Regions from separate parts of the Homo sapiens genome. Here regions 1, 2, 3, 4 and 6 are each linked to region 5. Evidence: promoter capture Hi-C in 16 types of primary human blood cells and fetal thymus (Javierre and others, 2016). All regions are on one chromosome and are shown on one strand. The core of a region is centred on a gene start or on the middle of the fragment in contact, and the rest is flanking DNA. Distances in the headings are between cores, read along the strand shown.

What was found. Contacts are between HindIII fragments. The CHiCAGO score rates a contact against its expected background, and 5 or more counts as called.
Region 1: a contact is called between a fragment that was not itself captured here and the fragment with the promoter of IKZF2 in region 5, in 1 of 17 cell types (total B cells). The highest score is 5.7, in total B cells.
Region 2: a fragment that was not itself captured here is called in contact with the fragment with the promoter of IKZF2 in region 5 in 9 of 17 cell types (M2 macrophages, fetal thymus, naive B cells and 6 more); the score reaches 16.0 in M2 macrophages.
Region 3: a contact is called between a fragment that was not itself captured here and the fragment with the promoter of IKZF2 in region 5, in 1 of 17 cell types (fetal thymus). The highest score is 10.0, in fetal thymus.
Region 4: a contact is called between a fragment that was not itself captured here and the fragment with the promoter of IKZF2 in region 5, in 3 of 17 cell types (fetal thymus, naive B cells and total B cells). The highest score is 7.2, in fetal thymus.
Region 6: a fragment that was not itself captured here is called in contact with the fragment with the promoter of IKZF2 in region 5 in 1 of 17 cell types (fetal thymus); the score reaches 6.7 in fetal thymus.

Annotation. Positions count from the first base shown.
Region 1 is chr2:212,968,642-212,971,341 of GRCh38, reverse strand. The region is part of intron 1 of LOC102725082 (a long non-coding RNA gene); the gene reads left to right. Among named protein-coding and RNA genes, the nearest start is that of MIR4776-2, 44 kb to the right of the region's middle. The HindIII fragment of the contact is 1,341 bases long and covers 660-2,000 here.
Region 2 is chr2:212,909,398-212,912,114 of GRCh38, reverse strand. No RefSeq gene overlaps it. Among named protein-coding and RNA genes, the nearest start is that of MIR4776-1, 16 kb to the left of the region's middle. The HindIII fragment of the contact is 850 bases long and covers 866-1,715 here.
Region 3 is chr2:213,286,067-213,288,780 of GRCh38, reverse strand. All of the region lies in intron 1 of SPAG16 (sperm associated antigen 16), which reads right to left. Among named protein-coding and RNA genes, the nearest start is that of SPAG16, 3.0 kb to the right of the region's middle. The HindIII fragment of the contact is 3,262 bases long and covers 1-2,714 here.
Region 4 is chr2:212,998,518-213,001,233 of GRCh38, reverse strand. IKZF2 (IKAROS family zinc finger 2) reads left to right here. Exons shown (of 9, transcript NM_001387220.1): 9 at 1-1,536. Among named protein-coding and RNA genes, the nearest start is that of MIR4776-2, 74 kb to the right of the region's middle. The HindIII fragment of the contact is 4,483 bases long and covers 1-2,716 here.
Region 5 is chr2:213,150,162-213,152,861 of GRCh38, reverse strand. It overlaps IKZF2 (IKAROS family zinc finger 2), which reads left to right and starts at 1,250. Exons shown (of 9, transcript NM_001387220.1): 1 at 1,250-1,449; 2 at 2,615-2,700. RefSeq lists silencers at 660-1,019, 1,100-1,159. The HindIII fragment of the contact is 7,158 bases long and covers 1-2,700 here.
Region 6 is chr2:212,931,113-212,933,812 of GRCh38, reverse strand. It overlaps LOC102725082 (a long non-coding RNA gene), which reads left to right. Exons shown (of 4, transcript XR_007088066.1): 4 at 1-927. Among named protein-coding and RNA genes, the nearest start is that of MIR4776-2, 6.1 kb to the right of the region's middle. The HindIII fragment of the contact is 2,172 bases long and covers 339-2,510 here.

The sequences.
Region 1 (2,700 bases), core at 81-2,580, 180 kb after region 5:
TGCAGGAAAGTCTTATTTTTCTTACCTGTTCCTTGTATGTGCCCCCTCCCCTTACCTTTAAAGTGCAGTGCTGTCTGAGTTATGAGCATGGTGGGGAGGTGCTATCTCTGAATGGGGAAAGCCATTCCATTTCCTTTTTTTCCCATTCCTCAAGGCTTAGTGAGACCCGAAACGCTTGTCCAACATGTTGAGGTACTACATGTCTCAAGCCTGGCCTAAGTTCACACTAAAGATCCATGTATAAATTAATTTACCCATTAATTTCAAGAATTAACATTGAATATATTTTATATTTTAATTATAAAATTCATAGGAATACTATTTTTCCAGGAATGGTATGTAAATGGAACATATCAATATATTCTTTAAATTATTCTAAAGTCATGGTGGATAATTTAAAAACCTAGAGCAGATGAAAAGTTGTGAAAAGAAATTTATCATTTATTGGGTGCACGTCAGTTGTAAATACTGATTTGAGTGGTTTATATGTATAAGCAGATTTATTTGTTCCTTGAAACAACTTATTAGTTTAGTGCTGCACAATCATCCCAATATCATAGATGAAACTAGCAAAGGGAGGTAAAATAACATACTTAATGCCCCACAGCCAGTAATTGCTGGACCAGTAATCAAACTGAAGTAGTATTGACTCCCAAGCTTTTGCTATGGAATGTCTTAAGACATCATGTCATTTATCTGATTCCTTGTCTGTAAAAATCTAGGAGGTGGACTTAAATAATCACCAAGGTTTCCATCTGGCCCTAACATTCCCTATTTCGTGATGGTGTGTTCCTCATCTCTCTCACATATGCACCTTGACATTTGCCTTTATGTTAAAAATTAAGTGTTGGGTTCATATCTTCAATTCCCACTCTTTTTACATGGCTTAAATCTGAGCTATTTGTCCTCACTTCTAAATGAATGCTCCCTTTAGAGAAACTCTGACACCAACTGTTCTGTGTTTTGAATAACTTAGAGAGAATAAGATTCCAGGTCAGTAATGAGCAACCCATGACTCAGTTTTGCAATCTTCCCATATTTTCCATGTGATGAAGAACCTATTTTCAGGATACAATTAGAAAATTGCTCTGGATTATTACAAACCTTAACATATTGGTGACTAAGAAGTGCCTGCAATTTTTTTCACTGACACTAAATGGATAATCTAGGTTGAATGAATATATCCACTCTCACAAAAGCCCAAATAAAGCTATCCCCATGTTGAATTTTTTAAGGTGGCCTGTAAACAAGTTTATTTTTCTCGAATTGGTCTAAATAAAAAAGAAAATTGCCCTTTCTGGCACTGGCTCATGACATACAGCCTTGTAGGACACATGCATATTCCAGATCTTACCCAGCTGCCTCATACTGAGGTAAGACCTTTAACCACTGATGGTGCCTAGGGTCTGTTGGGTGAAATGTTGCTTGCAGCTTTTTTTGGAAAATGGTGGGATATATCTGACATTGTTTGAAAAACTGATGGTTATTAAATTAGGGAATTTTTTTGTCTGGGAGACTTCTAGGTAGTGGGTGAACATATTTACTACACGTTACAGCACTTTAGTCTTCACTGAAAGGCCAAGAAGCAAAGTATAAATATATTGGCAAAATGTAAATTAGTGCTAAGTATTCCATATAGGAAAGGGATAGGATAGTGGCTATGCATATCTTTGAGAAATTAAAGAAAGGTAAGAGAGCAAAGAAATATTTAAATAGATTGTTTAAAGATAACAGCTGGAAGAAAGTGCAAGTTCCAAGCCGATTTATTAATATTAACAATAGCTGGGTTATTTTAGTTTTAATACCTATCTCCATCATTCTAAATAGTCTGACTTGCAGCCAGACTACGAAATACCTTTAATGAGTTAAATCCAAAATAAAAATCCATCTGTTCCCACCATGCACATTTGTTTTTTTAGCTAATATTACATGGTGAGTATCTTCCTCTTCACTTATTAGCATAGGCTAAGATTCTCCTGTGGTTTTTTTCTCTAGAAGCTTGTCTTCTAAGGATTAAATACATATAAATAGATGCCGTATTCACTTTATTTAGCTTTTTGCTGTTGGGTACTTTTCATTTCCTAAATTTCTGATAGTTTCATCTAAGCTGAAGTCTGCATTTTAGGCCCAAATGAGACCCAGACAAATAATTTGAAGAAAAGTTTCCACTTCAGTAGTAACAACTTGACTGGAGAATATAGATCACTGAAGAGCCCACCCTGTCTCCTCTGCTAAAACCAGGAAGATTTAAGATCTCAGTGTATCACTTCTTAAACAAGAAGAAACATATTCTCTCTAGAGATGTAAACCACAAAGAAATTCAGTTCTGTTAGCTTAAGTGTCATATATAGCAGGATGAACACATAAAGTCTAAGGGCAACTCCGGGTTCTTTTATAGAAAGACGTGTCTCCCCTAATCTCAAAGTTAGTTTTAGTCAATCTGCATGATGTCGTACTGACATGAATCAACTTTTTCTAAATCTTGAGCGATAAGGAAAATGAGCAAGTTGGGTGGAGCTCAGAAATGAACAGAAAATACATAGCATGTACAGGCATGATTTAGACCAATATCAGTGAATATGACTTCTGAGTGAGAGAGGGGCATATTTGTAAACAATTTGCAAGTGAAATGAAAGAGGTACTGTGATACAAGTAAGCAGTGTTGAATTAACATTTTTGTGTTAAAGAAAAAAAGAAAGC
Region 2 (2,717 bases), core at 41-2,540, 240 kb after region 5:
TAATTTTAGCATGTGTGTTTGTAGTTGTCAAAATATAAAACAGCCCCTTCTGGAGGTATTTTGTTACGACATAGTTAATATATTGTCATAGTCAGCCCTTGTGCCAACCACTTTGGTATTCTTCCTATGGGGGATTAAGCCTGACCAAATAACCAAACTCTATTTCTCCAAATATCCTGGGTGTTGCTCATTAGTTTTTCTACCCTTGATACTATATTTACATCCCATCTCTAGCTATACACCTTTTAAAACTAGGGCTAAAACGTAGTCAGAAATCCCAAATTGAGTTCCTTAGTACAACTGAACTGTGCTTTTTATAGGTTGCTGCTTTTAAAACGACTTTATTAAATGATAAAAACAGCAAGGATGCAAATATAGGAAAGACAGAAAGAATAACAGAAGTCTGGTTTACACACTGCAGATTTCTGATTCAACTACTCCTGAGTAGAACTCTGCCCTGATAAAATCTGCCTTTCTTACTCCAAATGCCGTTTTGAAGAGTATAGTGCAGGCCTTGCATGCCTATTCTATTTCCCTGGACTTTTTACATTCTAGTTTCTAGCCTTGTTCCACATGGGAGATGCCATCAAATGAACCACCCCAGAGGGGCTTCCTCCACAATGTCCTGACACTTTGTCTCCCTTAATAGTTAGTGAAGGCCTCTGGGAGATTTCTGCCTGCCTTGGTTGTGCTAAAGAGAAACAAGGGGGAGTAACGGTCTTTAAATCAGTTAAGGAGAACAGCCAGACTGGAGGACCCCTCACAATGCTAGCACTGGTAGTAAAAGTGTGACAGCCCCACAGAAAGATAAAATTGGGGGAAATGCCAAAGCAGCTGGATTTCGCACCTATCTTACCACAAAGCTTTTTCTTTCATGACTACATTTTGAGTTTCTAGATTTGGTTTTAGTAAAGAAAAAGGTTGCCTTGGTAAGTTGGTTTCAGTATCTTCATTTTACAGATTAAGAGAGACAGAAAAGCTCAGAAAGGTAAACAACTCATTCTCGGTTATATGAGCCTGAATTGGTAAAGCTGGAATTTGGATGCATTTACCTTTAAAGGGCATCCTCTTCTTTCTGTGGCATGAAGTTGTGCTGTCATCCGATAAGTCATGAGCCCCTCTTGGAGCACTGCAGAGTAGTCATATGTGGGCAGGTGGGCGCAGCCACCAACTAACTTCCCAGGACTTCTGAGAAAGCCCCTTTCCTTTGAGATTTATGTTAAGAAATATTGTTAGTGGCACCCTATCAATAGTAAGAAATAATTATTAATACTAACTAAAAAGTCTCTCTAACTAGGAGAAAGATTTTTTAAAAAAGGAATTAAAAATCATCATAAGAAAAGGATATGGTGAGCATAATATATATGGTAATAATATAGTATTTCATTTTTAAAGAAACCCTACATATTAATGTCTTCTAAACTTTCCATCTGATCCTTTCTGAAGATGATGAAAATATCAAATATGAAATATACAATCAATTCTCATAATTTGCAATTGTTACATCCTATAAAATTGCTGCAAATACTAAACCATTCCCCCTAAGGGAAATACAGGGTCAGGTTCTTCTGTGCCTTGTCACAATTTCATTAACTGATGAATACATAACCTTCTTTTATGTGTGTTTCCATTTAAAGACACATTTAGTATTATTGTTGATTCATTAACATTGAACTTAGAGCTGACAGCACTGTAATTTATGGGTGATTGAAGCTTATCTAATACATATATTTTCTCCCTAAGGCACATCACAGCCTTAGGAACTCTAGACAGCACTTCAGCACCGTGCTTGGGGTTCATTTTAAACTGTGAAACACAACAAAAAGCACAAAAATGCAGAAACAGGTGACAATAAATAGACTGAAAAAAGGCCACTTGTTTACAATATGAGAGCTGAACCAGGAAGGCAGAGCATGGTTTTGTTCTACCTCAGCTGGGACGTGATTAAATTTGTCCCTGCTCTATGCATGTTCGTGAAAGAACACAAAACACTGCTAGTATTGATTCTGGGGTTACAAATAGATTTTTGTGAGTAGGTGAATTCACAAACACAGAACCTGCAAATAATGAGAATCAATTATAAATGCAATAAACAAGTTGAAATGAGTTTTAATCATGTGGCTACTTACTTTCATATCCACATTGACAAATTAGTGGACTTAATCTTTTTTTTTTCAACTTTTATTTTAGATTCTGGGAAGGCATGTGCAGGTTTGTTACAAACCTTTATTGTGTAATGTGAGGTTTGGAGTGTAATTGAACCCGTCACCCAGGAAGTGAGCATAGCACCCAGTAGGTAGTTTTTCAACCCTCCCTTTCCGCTCTTGTGTCCCCAGTTTCTATTGTTCCCATCTTTCTGTCCTTGTGTACACAATGTTTAGCTCCCACTTATAAGCGGGAACACGTGATATTTGGTTTTCTGTTTCTGCATTAGTTCACTTAGGATAATGGCCTCCAGCTGCATCTACATTGCTGCAAAGAACATGATTTTGTTCTTTTTTATGGCTGCATAGTATTCCATGGTGTATATGTGCCACATTTTCTTTATCCATTCCACCACTGATAAGCACCTGGGTTGATTCCACGTCTTTGCTTTTGTGAATAGTGTGCGATGAACATATGGGTGCATGTGTCTTTGTGGCAGAATGATTTATTTTTCTTTGGGCATATACCCAGTAGTGGGATTGCTGGGTTGAATGGTAGTTCAACTCTTAGTC
Region 3 (2,714 bases), core at 17-2,516, 140 kb before region 5:
ATAACAGAAGAAAAAGTGGTTAACACATGTATCTAAGAGAATGTTAGTTTTAAAAAAGAAAAAGAAATCTATGCATCCACCTTTCTAAATGTTTTACTTACTCAACTACAATGTTTAGCTTTAAAAAAAAAAAAAGTTAAAAACCATACAGTAAATTTAAAAAAAGGAAAGGACAGGTGCGGTGGCTCACACCTGTAATCCCAGCACTTTGGGAGGCTGAGGCGGATGGATCACGAAGTCAGGAGATCGAGACCATCCTGGCTAACACAGTGAAACCCCGTCTCTACTGAAAATACAAAAAAAAAAAAATTAGCCAGGTGTGGTGGCAGATGCCTGTAGTCCCAGCTACTCGGGAGGCTGGGGCAGCAGAATGGCACGAATCCGGGAGGCAGAGCTTGCAGTGAGCCGAGATCGTGCCACTACACTCCAGCCTGGGAGACAGAGCGAGACTCCGTCTCAAAAAATAAAATAAAATAAGGAAAACTTCAATTTTAATTAAAGTTATCAGTCAACATTACTATGGCAATGAAAGACTAGATAGAACTGTTACTTAAGAAGACAGCAGCCTGGTACAGTGGCTCATGTCTGTAATCCCAGCACTTTGGGAGGCCAAGGCAGTAGGATGCCTTGAGCACAGGAGTTCGAGACCAATCTGAATAGCAGAGTGAGACCCCCGTCTCTACCAAAAACAAAAACAAACAAACAAAATTAGCTGGGTATGGTGCCGCACATCTGCAGTCCCCGCTACTCAGGAAGCTGAGGTGGGAAGATTGCTCGAGCCCAGGAATTTGAAGTTGCAGTGAGCTATGATCATGCCACTGTACTCAAGCCTGGGTAGCAGAGCAATACCTCATCTCTAAAAAAATAATAATTTTTTTTAAAGGTAGCATGGTAGAAGTTAAGATATTTATCTACAGGCTTGCTACTTCAATTACAGTCCTCAGTATCTCAGATAAGGGCATCAGTCTAGTGTGATCCTCATATTTCAGGGTCTAGAGTCCTTAATTTTGGAGTTTCAGAAAGAGTTGACTTTGGGACTCCATTCAGAGCTGATTAGCTTCACAGAACTGGCTTAAACTTACTGAACTCTCAGAAATTGCTGCTGGGGGTTGGGGAGCCTTTTTCATTGGCCAGTAAACTTACACCTACCATCTAAAAAGCCAAATCCTTAGTATTAGAATGCCCAGAGAGAGGAAATAATCAAAAGCTAGAGGAGCCAGATGTCCATATTGAGGGAGGTATGTAACAAAAACAATACCTTGAAGCTCCACTTTCCTAGGGTCCATGTATTCATTTACTATTCCTTGAACAAAGTCTCTTTAGACAAGGAACAACAAAGTCAATTAACCCTTAGCTTTCTTAGTACAAATTCATGCTGGCCTTCCAATTGGAACTAGGCAGTCCCAAATGTCTGCAGCCATACATTAATAGGCAGCCCTTCCTCACTACTACAGTTGAAAACCTCACCCAAGTTGTGTTGATTTCTAATAAGGGATTCATTCATTCACAAAAGACAATCAACCTTCTTTCTAGGTTCTGGAGATACCTACTTGACCCTTTACATATCTATCACATAGCTAAAATCTCACCTTATAGTTTATAATGCTGCAAGTATTTTTCTAATGATGGGTTCTAGAGAGGATTCATATACTCCATAACTCAATTTCTTAGTGTTCTGACAATAGCTAAGAACAATGTATATTTGTATCTCACCTTGTTGAAGTCTAAAACATAAAAGCAATGATATTCTGGGTTCCTTAGAAGAGAAATAGGTGGCACTGTTACAGCTAGGAGATTACAGGGAAAGGGTGTTGCAGGGTAAGAACTCTTTTTCCTGAACCCAGTGTGTAAACCATTATAAAGGACATGGGACCTTCATTAATGTCCCCCACAAGATGGATCCTGGCTGTTTCTGGTTTGGACATTAGTCTATTCATACTCTTCATAATTGAGTATTTAAAAGCAGAAAAGTGGGAGATTTCCTAAAGAATTCAAGTCAACTTCTTTCAAAGTCTTGCTCGATATTGATAGCTCATTGTCTAATGTACTAGGAGCATCTGTTGAGTGATAAATAAGGGAAATCCAGGCCAAATGCAGTAGATTAGAAGTGATTGAGTATATGTGCGAAGCAGAGGACATCAGATTTCTGATTCATCTGTGCATATTATAACTTTTATTTACCCACCATGATAGCTCAATTAAATTACCTGAAAGCAAAGACTTTAAACCAAAGGAAGTCTCACTTTGGCAACTATCATAATTGCCTTAAGAAACAATGTCAAACAACATTACACAGGCAACTCTTAATTAACCATGTGAAGAGTGCCCAGGGATACAGGAATAATTGGTATTCACAAGTAATCCTCAAACTTCATTTCAACTGAGAGTTGAAATGACTAAACCTCTTCCCTCAGCATGGAATATAGCAAAATAAACTGGTTAAATGTTTAACTGTGTATCCCCTGACTACCATTTGGTTAAAATACAAAATAGCAGTCAGTCAACCAAAGAAAGAAGAAAAGCAAATGGGTTGGATAATTCACACAACGGTTAGTAAAATCCTAAAAAGTTACAGTTGCTTATATGTGTTAAAGTTCAAATAAGTGTGATTATTTGAAAAAGTCTTTGTAAGACAGGTTTGCAAACTGCTACATCTTGGCAGGTGTGACTCAGTGATCTCCCTGCACATTAAGTAAACCTGATTTTCATTGCTG
Region 4 (2,716 bases), core at 193-2,692, 150 kb after region 5:
AGGCCCCATATTTGCTGTTAATAGTTGGACCTTTTAGACCATGTGTTATTTGCAATCCCAGAATGATTGCTTCTGCTATTAGTTAAAAAGATACTATTCTTTTCTTTCTGTACAAGTGCAATACTCCCCTTGAAGTCTTAAAAACTATGGTGATTTTTTTTTCTTTTCTGACCTATTCTTCCTTTAGCTAATGACAAAAAGAAACTCATAAAAGTCATAGTATGTTAAAGGACACAACAAGCAAAGAGAAAAACACTCCACAATCAAAAGATTACAGAATGTGGAAACCACTAGTCTGATCTCATGGTATCTTTATTTAAGCTAAATTTCCATGGAAATTAGTAATCTTTTGCTTGAAAAATGTGTCCTAAAGTTGAACTTTTTACAGATTGAATCTTCTTAGACCCTCGCCCAATGCTCTAAATTAAGAACCTAATACTTAATATTTTTATTTTACTTCTCCCCTTTTAGAAATAAACTTTTAAATAAAAGCAAAGCACTTAGCTGAGTTTTAAACACTTACATATCACCTATTGGAGAAATTTTTTTTAAAAATATTTGGAGCAGTCCTGTTTTCATACAAATTTAAGTAAGAGGTATTTTTCTTATACATATTTATATGTAGTGTGCTAATTTTCTTTTTTTATACCTGTGTCCCTGTAGTAAAACTGCTGTAATATAAATACATGTTTTGTTAAAAGATAACATTTCTTTGGCATTTCTTTTAAAGGCAGTTACTGCATTTCTGCATTTGTACAGTATGTGTCTTGGCCATTTTAGATATTCTTTCTTTAACAATACCAAAGGTAATTAGACTATTTTAAAGACTAATTGCTTGACAGTTTCTAGGGTATTTTGTGTTTTAGAAGCAAAAAAAGAAAAAAAAATAGGTCAAACCAGTAAACCTCATTTTTTTTCAAACTAATAATTTGGGGAAATAAAAACTATTGTTTAAAAAAGAAATATATATATATATATATAAATATATATGTAAAGTTAAAATTCCATACCTTGTATGTCAGGTTTGCTAAGTGTAATGTAGTTTTTTTAAGGCTCAAATACCATACCTCAGAAAATGAGGTTTACTATGGAAATACTGAAACAGTCTTTGCAGCTGTGTGACAAGTCACTCTACTACATACTGATTTGGAGACCTCCGCTAAATAGTTTTATCACTGCAGACTAAAATGTGGGACTTGTATCTTCTTTGTTTTTAATGCACACACATACATGTTCTGTGCATGTATGTGGTTACTGTGTATATGTGTATGAGTGTTGTATATGCATGTGTGAGTGTGTGTCTGTATGTGTGTACAACTAAAGAAGCTGCAGAAACTTTGTAATACTTTGTGAAAAGGATTATATTATAAAGGTTTGTACTGTCTGAGTGCACAGCTACTGGAATAAATTTAGGGAATCTCAGGAACAAGCATATAATTTGTCCAAGATTTATTTCTTCTCAGAAGTGTAAGTGCAGTTTTTAATTCTGTATATTATTTAATATTTTACCAATAAAATAAACTTCTGACATAAAAAGTTTGCTATAAAAACTTTCTGGTGAAAATTCTGTACACAAACATGTCTTCCAAATACAGAAGACTAAATTGTTGACTATACCAGGCTTAAATTATCATTGCCATTGTGTATTTGTCACACTTCCAGTTCCAGAGGTTTGGATACATGTGATATCTGCAATCTACATCTCAATCGTTAGTCATCTCCATCATTACTATATAGTCCACCAGAGCAGAAAACAAAGTATTACATGATTTGTTAAGAATGACATCTCTGCTCTTTAGACAGCTTTCATACATATCTTATTTCACTTTTAAAAAAGAGGAGTGTACATCAGAGCCTATCCCCTTTCTATATAAGAAAATAGACCTTAGGAAAGAAAATTGTGACTTACTCCAAAGAGCATAGTAGTGCACTTAAATTACACAAGAGGTCTGAGTGCTCTGATCTGGTCAATAACACTACTAGAATACACTACTGCTATAGAAACCAGTATTTCTTAGAAGTCAAAGATAAAATTAAGAAGTCATAGCGATTGTTCAATCACACTGGCAAAAACTGGTTGCCAGTTCTGCTTCATGTTGTACAATCACTACGTGAGTCATACACATCTCTTTGTTTCTTAGATTTTACAAATGTAATTTATCTTTTGCCATGAGAAGTTTGTTCTGTTATAAACATCTTCATAACCAGAAATGCAAAAGGGCATATATGACTGCAAATTCATTTTATTGAGTGTTAGCTAGCCACTATCCTTCAGGCCAGTTTGAACTCCACCATCACATTTGAGATAGCTGTTAGAGTTTTTCCTCACTGATATGTATTTATAGAATTTCATGGATACTTACCACATTCCCCAGTAATTTCACTTCCATGTGTCACACAGAATGAAAAATACCATAAATTCAAATGAAATTTTCCTGCCTTGACTGTATCATAATTCAAAATACTAACCTAATTTGGGCAGGGGAGGTTGTGAAGCAAGTGAAATAGCAAAGCAAAAAGAAGAAAAACTTACCAAATCATCCTCCAGTATTAAATTTATAAAGGATTCCTTCAAGATCAGCAAGGAATGTCAAATTCCCCTGGTGTATTATATCAACAGGAGCCAAATGAAAAGGATTTCTTGAAAAATGTGCCATATGCTCTTGACTTTTCAATTGCAATATGGTCAGAGAAATTATAAATAATTTAAATCTTG
Region 5 (2,700 bases), core at 1-2,500:
ATCTGTGATATGGTTTCTCAGGAACACCGTTTGGCAGTCCTGATAATTTCATGTGTTTTCAAATTTCAGCCATCCAGACTACACAGTTCACTATTTTCAGCTCCTTTCATTTTCCTTTTCCCTTTAATTATAGAAGTCTCTATTCCCTCTTTTCGCAAATGTGGTCAGGAAAGATACTAAATGCTACTATTTGTAGAAAGAATATGCATTTGTTTTTCTCTTGACGGTTCACTTAAGTTCTTTCCAAATAAACAAGCTGTGGTTGATAGTGATAGGTAACACTTCAAGGGTAGCAACTTTTTGTACTCATCCGTTCCTTTGACTTTGGAAGACGTGGCACATGCCCCGGGGGAGAAAAAGCAAGTCAACACTTTAGTTTTTAAACTTGCACTGTTAAAGCACTTTCAAAATAGTAATAGTTGAGCTTCATCTCAGACATGAATGTCTTTCTCAGTCTATTCCCCAGGACCCCTCTTATCCCGCTTCAGGTCCCGGTCAATGCGGTGCGCTTTCCGAAATGGGGCCGCAGAGTTGCCGGCGGAGACCAGTAGGTGGGAGGCTCCACGCACACTCCCCGACTCGGCCGGGACGCGGCTCCCGGACTCCGCGCAGGGCGCCAAGATCGCCGCCCCGCTCCCTTCCCCCGGCCTCCCCACCAATCCCAGTTTGAAAGAAAACTTCACGCGGCCGAAATGAACGTCACCTCACCGCTCCAAGCCTCCAGCCGGCAGAAAACGTGAGATTTATTATGACACGGGGAGGGGAGATGGGGGTCGCCGTGGCACACTCGGAAGCGGGTTACCTGGCCCCCGTCGGGGGCGGGGTCCGCAGTCCGGGGACCAACGGGCTGGGGGCGACGCGGCCGGGCGCGCGGGTGGGCGCGAGGGAGTGCGCGCGTCGCGGAGCCTCCGGGGCAGCACTTGTCCTGTAATCGATTGCCGAGCGCGCCGAGCGGCTTAGCGCGCAGACACGCGCACACGCGCCCGCCAGCCCGCGCGCGCGCGCACACGCGCTCTCATACACACACGCACAGGCGCTCGGGCCCCGCACACACGCACGCGCGCGCACGCACGTCCGCTCGCCCGCGCCCGGGGCTCCGCTGCCCGCCGCCAGCCGCCCGCCGCCGCCGCCGCCGCAGCCGCCGCCAGCCCGCCCTCCGCCCGCGGGCGTCTGCGCGAGCCCGGCCGGCGGGGGAGATGTGCTCGGGCTCCACCGGATCGGTTTCTCGGGGTTTGACCAGCTGTCCCGGGCTAACCCTGCTCCTCGCTGAAGATGGAGGAAGTAAAAACAGGATTACCCTTAGCTACAGATCCACTGCCTTAGTTTCCACCACCAACTGCAGTGCACAAACACACGTTAGGCACAGGAAAGAAAGAAAGACAGAGGACACATTAACAGTAAACACAAACAAAAGGGTGATGGGATTATTTTACTGCATGCACTGCTGAGGTAAATCTCCGCTTGGCTTTTGCGTGGTGAAGAACAGCTCTTGTTTTGTCTTCTGATTCATAGATTATATATAAATATGTGTATGATTTGCAAAGGGGGGAGTGTTTTCAAAGTTAAGTGTAATTATATAGCATCTCGTTTTGCACTGTGATGTGATCAAATGACTTGTTGCTGTTAACCAGTAATAATAATAATAATATAGGTATTTTTCTCTGGGAGGGATGGATTGTGGTTCTGATTAGGGTAATGATTTTTGTAAAGGACGCTCAGGGAATCGGGTTGAAGATGATGTCCTCTGCCTTAATTTATCGTCCCCTCCTTGTAATCTGTTTCTGGGATGTTAATCGATTAATCAGTTCTCATCTCTATAGCTGTCATGAATTTGGACTTGTTTTGCTTTGTTTTAACTTGAATTCCAAGAAGAAAGATTGGGTAGGCTGGAATAAATTGAAGCTGTCCAGATAGAAGGTAATATCCAGATCCTGTTGGAATTAAAAAAAAAAAAAAACCAAAAACCCTGGTATGACACATGTAAACAGGCAGCAGTTAAATCACTTTGACAGGTTCTAGTATGGGCGAAAGAGATGGAATTAAGATTTATTTATTTTTTTTCTTTTTTGCCAAGGGCCAAAAACAGTCCTGTGAAGTTGGCCTGGGTTCCTAGCTGGGTTCTGCCTGACTGTCCCTCCCCTCTACCCGCCCCCCCCCCCTTTTCTTTCAGTTTTCTTGTCTTAGCTTTTGGTCGATTCTTAAGGAACCGGTGGATCAAGTTTTTTCTCTTGTTAATCGCATTGCTATAGCACTGACTGACCTCTCTCTCTCTCTTTTTTTTCCTCTTTCCTGAAAGTACGTGGTGCCATTCCTGAGTGACTTTTCCTACTAGACCATCCCTAAGGGACGAGGGGGAGGGGTGGAAGGAGGAGGAGGAGGAGGACGAGGAGGAGGAGGAGGAGGAGGGGGGTGTTCTTCTCTCTCATTTCTTGGTTTTGTTTATCAGCCGATCTGTTTGCTGGATTTGGGCTTGGAATGACCCACCTGTAAAGTGCTTTTCCTTCCTCCTCCCCTTGAACTCTGCAGGGGGCTTGGCTTGGAGGGGGCAAGGGAGGGAAAGAGAGAAGGGGGAAACACAAAAAACTTCTTTCTTTCTCCCTCCGTTTATCTTCAGCCCGACATTGTCACCTCCTCTTTGAGGGGTTAGAAGAAGCTGAGATCTCCCGACAGAGCTGGAAATGGTGATGAATCTTTTTTAAT
Region 6 (2,700 bases), core at 175-2,674, 220 kb after region 5:
AGTAAAAAAAAAAAAATACTAAGATAAATATTTTTGTGAACTTAATTGGGAAAATAAATGAAACTATCAATTAGCCAGGATTTGGGGAGCATCTGAGAACTATGAGGTATGCAGTAAACATGTGACTGAACTGCCTTTGCATGGATGCTATCATAAAATACATTACCAATTGGGTAGAGATAAATCTAACACACCAAAAGCAAGAGTAGAAAATAAAAACAAATCACCCTGCTGCTATTCCAAGGACCAGATTTTTTACCACAATTAGTACTGACTCTCTGAGTGCTATAGGCTATTGAGACAAGGAAGAAATCTATGAAGGGGAGTTAGGGAAAGCTTCCTGGAAAAAAAAAAAAAAAGGCTTGAGCTGTGCTTTAGGAAGATGTGCAGTGGAAGGAGGAGATTTCCATGGGATGGGGACATTATAAATATTTATATGCCACAGTCAAATACCTTGACTATGCCACAAGGTAACTAGATTTTTGGGCAGACATTATTCTGGGTATGCCTATGAGGATGTTTGGAAGAGATTAACATTGTGTAGAAGGAGTAAAACAGGTTGCCCTCCCTAATGTAAGTGGGTCTCATCCAATCAGTTGAAGGTCTGAATAGAACGGAAATGCTGACTCTCCCCTAAGAGAGAATTCTTTGTGTCTAGTGGCCTTTGAACTAGGACATGGTGTTTTTTTCCTGCCTTCACACTCAAATTGAAGCATCAGTTCTTTCTTAGTCTTGAGCCTGCTGGCCTTTGGAATGGACCACACCATCAACTGTCCTGGTTGTCAGGCCTTTGGACTTGGGGTGGAACTAAACTATCAGCTCTCCTGGGTCAACAGCTTGCCGACTCATCCTGCAAATCTTAGGACTTGCCAGCCTCCTTGATTGCATGACCAATTCCTTATAATAAATCTCTTCATATATGTGTGACCACATCCTATTACTTGTGTTCTTTTGGAGAACTCTGACTACTACACTAAGTAAAGACGCACAACATTTGCAAGACAATGCAAAGTTTGACCTGACTAAATTAGAAAGATTATGTTGTGGGGAAATTTAAGATAGTTGGTTTGATAGAGTCAGAGAAGATGAAGGAGAGTTGAGATGGATTTAGATTGGTGATGCAATTAAAATACTTACTCCTAAAGTCATCACTATCTCACTAGTCAGTGTTATCCTATTTTCCATTGAGCCTGAATTTGAGGATTTTGTCTCAATAGTGTATCTCCAAACATTCCCTAACAATCATATAGAGTAAGTGCACTAGATTAAACCTTTTGCAAATCACATAGGGATCTAGTTAAAATGCAGATAATGATTTAATAGACCCAGGGTAGAACCTGAGTTCTGTTGCTACTCCAAGGACCAGGTTTTTGAGTAAGAAACATTCCTTGTATAGTTATTGCTGCTTGAATCAGGGAGCCACTGAGGAAATACTACCTGGCCTCTGAAGGAATAAGGGCTGGTCCCGGAAAAAGACAGTATATTCTGGACTTTTTAAAAATTGTACAGTGCATATTACCTCACAAATATTGTCCTGGGAATGCATTTTCAAGAATTTGCAACATCAAAGAACAAAAATTAAGAGGAAATAAATATTCATCCAGAATATGTCATTTGAGGTGAGCATCATGAGTTTGTCAGAGACAATTTGAATCATCATTTTGCTAATATTAAAAGAGATGGCATTTTAAAATTTGAACTCTGAAAAGCATTTGCTGGAATCATTTATAAAATGGCAATATTAGCCATAATTGGCCTGGGTAAAAACTTGATAGGAGGAGATGGAGGGATTTAGGTAATTCAAATGGATCTTTCAGTTCGGTTTTCTCAGGGGAACAAGGCAGCATGTTGGTGGAAACTCTAAGGAAACCAAGTGGCAAGCCTTCTGAAAGCAAGGACTTGGATTTTCCTTTCAAGACATTTGCCAGAAGAGAAAAAAGCACAAGTGAAGAGATGGATTACGAACCTCTGATTTAGACTGTACCTTAGTCACTTAATGGCAACTCAAGCTGCCAGATCTCTTGTTCCTCCTGTTTTATGCCTTTTCTGTCACCCTACTCAACTAGTGACACTTGCTTTCCCACCAAGGCTCAGCACACCACTTCCAAGAAGATCTGGGCTAGGTGGGTGCCAGTCTGAATCTGAATCGCCCCCGTCCTGGGCTCTCCTTATCAAAAACACTTAGCAAATTGTATTAAACTGTTTTACTGTTTTCCCTTCTCCGACTCTAAGCTACTTGAAAACAATTATGGGTCACATATTTATTTTCATTCATTCATTCGTCATCAGTTATTTATTAAGTGACCTACCACATGCCTGGGCATGGTGATACAGTGGAAATAAGGTACACTCCATGTCCTTAATGAGTTTTGTGCATGAGTGCTGGTGCATGGGTGAGTTCTGGGCAAAGAGATCAAAGAGGGATAAGTGCTTTCTTAGGGATAAGGACAATGACTAAGGGTCATCATACGACAGGCATGGAACTTTGGCCATGGTAGTCTTGGGAAGCTTTCAGTAGGTGATGTAAAATGCTGAATATAATAAATGAAAAATCAATATTGATTGTATTTACTTTATCATCATTCTTAAACTGTCCATATGCTTTAGACACTTCTCTGTATATATACTTCATCAAACAAACAGATATGATGTGTGCTGTTTTTGAACATAATAAGAGATCTGGGGTAGTCTCAGCTGAGT